Linked DNA regions of Homo sapiens: region 2 is linked to region 1. Evidence: promoter capture Hi-C in human tissues and cell types (Jung and others, 2019). All regions are on one chromosome and are shown on one strand. The core of a region is centred on a gene start or on the middle of the fragment in contact, and the rest is flanking DNA. Distances in the headings are between cores, read along the strand shown. Region 1 holds the start of ADM5 (adrenomedullin 5 (putative)). Region 2 overlaps PRR12 (proline rich 12).

Region 1 (4,115 bases), core at 1,377-3,876:
GGGACCCAGGCTGAAACCCTGCCCTCCTGGTGCTTCCACTCTAGACAAGGGGGTCAGTGACATGGTGATGCCAGTTGGAGGTGACCTCTGTCAGGCTGGGAGCAGGGCAGACAGGTGTTGGTGTAGGTGGGCTCCAGGGCAAGAGGCAGCCCCCAGTAGAGTGCACGGGGTTTTCTAGCCCAGCTGGGAGGCATGAGAGGAGAAAGGCAGCTTTTTGTTTTCTGCTCCCCTTTCTTTTTCCTCCTGAGCACTTGGCAGGAGCTGCCATCACCTGAGATCAGGGGGCTTCCGGGGGAGCTGGGGGGGCTTCTCGGAGACAGGGTCTGGGCAGAGATCCAGTGTGGTGGGTCTGAGCAGGCAGGAGGATGGAAGGCTTGGAGCCTGGAGTCGCCGGGAGTGGTCTGGGTTGGAAAAGTGGGTCCCGGCCGATGGGTGCGAGGGTGGGTGGCACTCAGGGTAGTCATGGAATGTGGACCCTGGGACACCCACGAGCCTGTGACAGCAGCAGTTGTCAACTGGGCAGTTTTACTGCCCCCTCCGCTCCCCGCCCCCCCCCAGGACGTTTGCCACCGTCTGTGGAAACATTTGTGGTTGTCACTCCGGAGAAGGGGTGGTCCTGGCATCTGGTAGGTAGGGGCCAGGGGGCTGGTAAATGTCCTGCAGCCACAGGACCACCCCCTACAAAGACTCATGCAGCCCCCGGGACCACGGCACTAGCTGGGAAACGGATACTGGAGAGGGAGGAGGAGTCCTCGGGCGTTGGTGACTTTGTCTCATCTTCATGTGCTGGAGGGTATGGGGGGAGGAGAGGAAGTGGAGACAGCAGGCTGGACCATTGTGTTTCACTGGAACGTTTGCCTGAGGAGGAAGTGGGCTTGGGAGAGGTTTTCTTTTTTATGAAAGAAGCAATCACTGCATTGCTGATGGGAATCATCCTGATGGAGAAATCCAAGGGCAAGGGACAGCAGCTGGGCTCTACTCCTGAGTGAGTCTAGTGGGCTTGGGGGTGTCCATGTGGTGCTGTCCCTTGGCAGGGTCAGGGCAGCTGCTAGGGTGGGACCAGCAGTTGGGGTCTGCAGCGTGGAGATGGGCAGGAAGCTGGAGCCCGGCTCATCGTCGCATAGCCTGCCTGCACCCGCCCCCCGCCACCACCTCCTGGTGGGTTCCGCCCTCATGCCCCACCTCTCCCTGCAGCGGGACCTGGACTTCACCATCGACCTGGACTTCAAGGGCCAGCTGTGCGAGCTGTCCTGCTCCACCGACTACCGGATGCGCTGAGGCCCGGCTCTCCCGCCCTGCACGAGCCCAGGGGCTGAGCGTTCCTAGGCGGTTTCGGGGCTCCCCCTTCCTCTCCCTCCCTCCCGCAGAAGGGGGTTTTAGGGGCCTGGGCTGGGGGGATGGGGAGGGCACATCGTGACTGTGTTTTTCATAACTTATGTTTTTATATGGTTGCATTTACGCCAATAAATCCTCAGCTGGGGTCTGGCTTTGTTTCCTGGGGGCAAAGGAGGTTTGGGGTTCCTTTCGCAGGTACTGCAGTGCCAGCCTCAGCAGTGGGGGGACCGGCCTTGGCACCTGCTGGTGGCTGCCATTCTGTGGATCTGCGTCTCCCGTCCCCCGTCTCTAGGCCTCTTGCTCCCCTTCCTTGGTTCCTTCTCGGGGTCCCTGTCCTCCACAGCTGTCTCTCAGGGTCTTTGTCCAACTCTTTTCATCCCTCTCCTGGGTCTGCGCCCCTCCCCTCTGCGGTACCCGTGTCCTGCCTAGTAGGGGATGGGGGTGGCTTTCCAGCACAGCCAGCCCTCAAGTTTCCCAGAACAGTCTCCCCACCTCCCCCCAACACTCGACATTGTTCCTCTCTGGCTGTTTTTTCCTGTTCGGGTCCCTTCAAGGCCCAACTGTGCCCAGCCCTCTGCAGCTGGGGACACTGAGTGGGTTGGGGGTGTATGTTTGCAAGGATAGAATTTCTCATGGGGGAGTGGCCCTGCTTCCTCCCCTAGAATGGCTTGGGGCTTAGGGCTGGGGACTTGCCCTCCATGGAGGTCAGTGGGAGTTGCAGCTGTAAGGTGGCAGGGCCTACCCATCTTACAGAGGTGAAGACGAGGTCCCTCTGCCTCTGCTGCAGACATGGCGTCTGCACCCACCCTTCCACCCTCAGGGCCTGGCCACGGGGTCCTGGGTCCCCCACAATACTGTGCACTCGACCTGGTTGACCCAGGACACCCTCCTCGTTGAACAGCCCTGGCTACACCTGCTTCAGTGCAACTGGAGCCCTCACCGGCGAGTGCCTGACACCTCGGCCTTTTCTCTTCCGGAGGGGCGCTCCTCAGTGTGTTTGGGGTCTCCCTCGCTCCACGCCCTCCAGGGGGCCGCATGTGCACTTGCCCTGCATTGCCTGGCCCCCGAGGTTCCAGGGTCCCAACTGTCTACTAACCGGCTTCCCGACAGGGTGAGGGTGAGGTCGCATCTACAACCAGAGCCAGCGCTTCCCCGCCGCCACCCCTTTTCTTGGAATCCCGCTGCTTAGCTACCTGCGGGTGTCATTGGCCCCGCCCCATTTCCCCACGCTTTGAAGGGGGCGAGTCTCCACAGACCTCCTAGGGGGATAGACAGCAGCTGGTGTGACCCCACACACCCAGTGAGGTCTCTGGAGCCGCGGTGCGGGAAGCGGGGACCCGGGTTTGAATCCTGCCCCTCTGGTGTGGTGCGGCCTCTTCCCACAGACTTTTGGCCTCAGTGTTCCCCGCCTGGGAAGTGGGGACTGGCCCTGGTACCTGGCTCCAGAGCTGCACCCAGAGGCGATCAGCCCGGTGCGGGAACGGGGCGGGGTGGCCGCAACTACGGGCCACGGATCCTGACCCGCCCTGCCCACGATGACTATCCACATCCTCATCCTGCTGTTGCTCCTCGCCTTCTCCGCCCAAGGGGACCTGGACACTGCAGCCAGGTGAGAAACCCGGGTGGCAGCAGGGACAGGGCGGGAGGGAGACCGTAAAGGGCGAGCGCCCTCTCCCGGCCGCGGAACGGGCAGGTGATCTGTAAGCCTCCCCGCTGGTCTTGGAGTGCTTGGGTGCCCACCTCCATCACGCTCCATCTCTCAATTCGGTTTGAACCCGGTTTTCTCCCACGCTCCCTCTCCAGGCGAGGCCAGCACCAGGTCCCCCAGCACCGCGGGCACGTCTGCTACCTGGGCGTATGCCGGACCCACCGCCTGGCGGAGATCATATACTGGATTCGCTGTCTCCACCAAGGAGCCCTCGGGGAAGGCCAGCCACGAGCCCCAGGACCCCTACAGCTATGGGCGCCGCCGGTGGCGCGAGGCGGAAGCCCGGCTCGGTTCCCAGGATTCCGGCCTGCAGCGAGGGGGCTAGCGCAGTGCCCAGCTCGCTGGGTGACCTCGGGCACGGCTCGTCCCCTCCTCGGCTTCAGTTTGCCTATCTGTATGTTGGAGCTTCTACTCCACATTTCTTCTCCCCTAACTCCAGCCCCTGAAACCGTCTTCCCCAGTCCCTCCCCGGGCTGCGACTAGGTTGGACCTAGAAGCACACGGGACCAGGCTGGGCGAAGAACACTGACGCCCAGAGCCGAATAAACAAGAGTTCCGTGTTTCAGTCTCTGCTTCTCTGTACCTATTTCGACCTCTCAGTCGAGGCTGGGTCTCTAATATACCTTTCTCTATTAGCCATGCTGCTTCTCCCTCACGGAAGTCCCACTGTCTACCTTGAATCCAACCCGCTGTGGCGCCTTTCTTGCCAACTCAATCCATGCACCTTCCGTGGGTGGTTTTGGCGGGCCGTCCTGACCCCCAAACATCCCTCCTCCCTCCCTGGCGTGAAAGGGCTGAGATTTGCTCCGGCACCCTACGCGCCTGACGTTATAATGCACCTGGGGTGGGCTGCGACCTCCCAGCTGAGCCTTGTTCCTCGAAGAGACAGGAGACTAAGAGACAATGAGCTGAGTGAGGAGCCCAGGAACCCGGGTTCCGAACAGCTGCGTAGAATGCGAGCGGCCAAATGGTGGAGAATCTGGCCGGGTAAAAGGAGACGGAGGACTGGGGATCGAACGGATGTAGGGGATTGGACGCCGTGGCTCGAAGGGGGCGGGGATAGAACGCGGGG
Region 2 (3,639 bases), core at 383-2,882, 64 kb before region 1:
TTAGGATGGGACCGAGAATTCTGGGGTAGGTGGTTAGGATGGGACCGAGAATTCTGGGGTAGGTGGTTACGATGGGGCTGAGAATTCTGGGATAGGATAGGTGGTTAGGATGAGACTGAGAATTCTGGGGTAGGTGGTTAGGATGGGGCCGAGCATTCAGGGATAGGTGGTTAGGATGGGGCTGAGAATTCTGGGGTAGGTGGTTAGGATGGTGCTGAGAATTCTGGGGTAGGTGGTTAGGATGGTGCTGAGAATTCTGGGATAGGTGGTTAGGATGGGGCTGAGAATTCTGGGATAGATAGTTAGGATGGGGCTGAGAATTCTGGGGTAGGTGGTTAGGATGGTGCTGAAAATTTTGGGGTAGGTGGTTAGGATGGGGCTGGGAATTCTGGGGTAGGTGGTTAGGATGGGGCTGAGAATTCTGGGATAGATGGTTAGGATGGGGCTGGGAATTCTGGGATAGATGGTTAGGATGGGGCTGGGAATTCTGGGGTAGATGGTTAGGATGGGGCTGGGAATTCTGGGGTAGAATTTTGGGTGACATTGAGAATCTGAGCCAGGCCAGAAGGCACAGTGGAAGCATCACTGGTCAGGCCCAGCCTCCTCTGTCCTTTGAGGAGACTCTAGTTGTCTCTCCTGATCTGCAGCCTGGGGGAAACTGAGGCACAGATCTGAGACCTGGCTGTTGGGTTTGGGGTTTATGGATCCAGGGCAGCATCCAGCTGACCCATTGGCTTCCCGCAGGATGCTCTGCACACGTTCCCACAGCTGCAAGTGGAGCAGAGTGGGGAGGGCTCTCCGGAAGAGGGGGCTGTGCGGCTGCGGCCTGCTGGGGAACCCTACAACCGCAAGACGCTCAGCAAGCTCAAGAGGAGCGTGGTCAGAGCCCAGGTGGGCACTGGGGCTGGGGCTGGGAGTGGGGAGTGCTGGCGGTATGTGGGAAGGGAGGAGAGGGGCTGCCAAGTGCCGGGCTGGAGGGGCTGAGGCATCTCCACTCCTACCCAGGAGTTCAAGGTTGAGCTGGAAAAGTCGGGATACTATACACTCTACCATTCGCTCCACCACTATAAATACCACACCTTCCTGCGCTGCCGGGACCAGGTGAGCCCCACCCACAGCACCCATCGCCCTGGGATTCCAACCTTTCTGACTTCCTCTTGGGATCTGAGGGTCCAAGCCCAGCCCCATCCTGCCTCAGACCCAAGAGTTCAGGTCCTTCTGTCTTGGACTTAAGAATGCAGCCCCCAGCCCTGGTCTCCCTGGGACACTGACATCTGACACCCCAGGCCCCATGCCCCAGCCCCTTCCCTCCCCAGAGGCCGGTGTGCCACCCTCCCCAGTGCCATGTTTGACCCCTGCAGACCCTGGCCATCGAGGGCGGCGCCGAGGACCTGGGCCAGGAGGAGGTGGTCCAGCAGTGCATGCGGAACCAGCCGTGGCTGGAACAGCTCTTTGACTCCTTCAGTGACCTGCTGGCCCAAGCACAGGCCCACAGCCGCTGCGGGTGACCCCGCCCCAGCTTGTGAGGGGGGCGCCTCCTCCATGAACCGAGAATTGGGACAGAACCGTGTCCTCAGGAGCTAACACCTGGGCTCCATCGCCGGGGAAAGGGGGTCATGGGTCAGGGTGTGTCTGTGCTGCCCCCTCCAGGGCAGGGTTCAAAGTCCGACTCCCCCCCTCTCCCAAGCCCCCTCCACTCCCTCCCCATTCCTCCCACTGTTCGGTGTACAGAGAAATTATTTATATATATGTATAAATGTCTATTTAGTAACGGTTTCCCTCTCCCCTTGCCCCGACCCCCCCTCCACAGCCACAGCCCCCGCCCCCTCCACCTTGTACATAATGTATAGGAAAAGTCTATGTATGGCTGGGGGGGGTGGGGTGGCTTCAGAGAGCTGGGGGACCCCTTCCCCCCAAGTCCCCCCTGCAGGCCAAGATCTTTGCTAAAGGCCATTCCCTCCGCAGGGCATTTGGCGTCGGGTGGGAGGGGAAAACGCATCTTGTTAATTATTTTTAATCTTATTTATTGTACATACCTGGGGCAGGGGCTTGGGGAGGTGGAGGGGGGAGAAGGGTCCCCTCTCTCTGCCCCTCCCACTCCTTTTCTACGGCGATTTGTCTGTGTCTGGCCCCCACCCACTGCCCATCCCCCATTGTTGTCTGGATGTGGTTCTATTTTTTATCGGTCTCCTTTCCCCTCCTCCCCGTTCTCGCCCCCGCCCCACCCCCTGCTCCCACTACCCTTTGTCTCTTGCTCTTTCTTGGGCTTCTGTACAACTCAACTTGTATACACTGTGTACACACAACCAGCCAAACGAAAACCCAACGGCAAACACTTTACCGGCAGGCTGGAGTGCCTCTGTCCTGCGGCGCTGGAGTGGGTGGCAGTGGTAGCAGGGGCAGAGGTTCTGGAACGGGACTTTCCCAGAGCCCTGGGCAGTGGGGGGCCTGAGGCTGGCATATGTTCTGTGTCCCCGCACAGCAGAGTATCCCACCCTGAAATTTAATGACTTCAGACAACAAATATTTATCACTGGGGGGTTTCTTTTGTTTTTTAGCTAAAGACAGGGTCTCGCTCTGTCACCTAGGCTGGAGTGCAGTGGCATGATCATAGCTCACTGCAGCCTCCAACTCCCTGGCTCAAGCGATCCTCCTGCCTCAGCCTCCCAAAGTGACGGGATTACAGGCAAGTGCCACTGTGCCTGGCCCTGTGTTCTTTATGTTACCCAGGCTGGCCTTGAACTTCTGGGCTTAAAAGATCCTCCTGCCCCAGTCTCAAGTAGTTGGCATTACGGGTGCATGCCACTACACCCAGTTCAAATCCTGTAGTGTTTTGTTTTGGTTTTTTTTTTTGAGACAGAGTCTCGCTCTGTCACCCAGCCTGGAGTGCAGTGGTTCGATCTTGGCTCATGCAACCTCAGCCTCCCCGGTTCAAGCGATTCTCCTGCCTCAGCCTCCCAAGTAGCTGGGATTACAGGGGCCTACCACTACATCCAGCAAATTTTTGTATTTTTAGTAGAAACCAGGTTTCACCATGTCGGCCAGGCTGGTCTCGAACTCCTGACCTCAAGTGATCCGCCAGCCTCAGCCTTCCAAAGAGATTACAGGTGTGAGCCACTGCGCCCGGCCTCAAGTCCTGTATTCTTGAATCCAAGTGAGTGGTCCATGGTACAGCACTCTTGGAGTTCCCCAAGCACTTGTATAAATGTAGAATCGGCACAGGCAGCAGACGAGGAGAGGGCAGGTTGAATAGGGCTGTTTCTCCTCCTCCCACCCTTAAAGGAAAAGATGTAGAATCTCAGGCTGTTGCTCTGGTCTACTTGATCAGAACCCACTTTTTAGTAAAATGCCGAGAGGATTCTCAAGCACATTCAAGTTTGAAGAACCGTGTTCTAGAACAAGAATGTTAAAAATGTGCAGGTTGGCTGGGCACGGTGGCTCACGGCTATAATCCCAGCACTGTGGGAGGCCGGGGCGGGGGGATCACTTGAGGTCAGGAGTTCGAGACCGGCCTGACCAACATGGTGAAACCCCGTCTCTACTAAAAATACAAAAATCAGCCAGGCGTGGTGGCGTGCGTCTATAATCCCAGCTACATGGGAGGCTGAGGCTGAGGCAGGAGAATCGCTTGAATCCAGG

The links. The method cuts DNA at HindIII sites, captures the fragments that hold promoters and counts their contacts. A contact is called where the count stands out against the background at its distance.
Region 2: a contact is called between a fragment that was not itself captured here and the fragment with the promoter of ADM5 in region 1, in 2 of the 25 tissues and cell types used here (spleen and stomach).

The regions. Positions count from the first base shown.
Region 1 is chr19:49,686,968-49,691,082 of GRCh38, forward strand. It overlaps ADM5 (adrenomedullin 5 (putative)), which reads left to right and starts at 2,627. Exons shown (of 2, transcript NM_001101340.2): 1 at 2,627-2,944; 2 at 3,139-3,608. The coding sequence starts at 2,871. The coding sequence ends at 3,526. It overlaps PRMT1 (protein arginine methyltransferase 1), which reads left to right. Exons shown (of 11, transcript NM_001536.6): 11 at 1,195-1,480. The coding sequence ends at 1,278. It also overlaps a transcript of CPT1C not described here. RefSeq lists enhancers at 226-967, 968-1,708 and a silencer at 3,017-3,086. The HindIII fragment of the contact is 11,781 bases long and covers 1,317-4,115 here.
Region 2 is chr19:49,624,100-49,627,738 of GRCh38, forward strand. It overlaps PRR12 (proline rich 12), which reads left to right. Exons shown (of 14, transcript NM_020719.3): 12 at 745-891; 13 at 1,006-1,101; 14 at 1,362-2,340. The coding sequence ends at 1,508. Among named protein-coding and RNA genes, the nearest start is that of RRAS, 14 kb to the right of the region's middle. The HindIII fragment of the contact is 9,568 bases long and covers 1-3,639 here.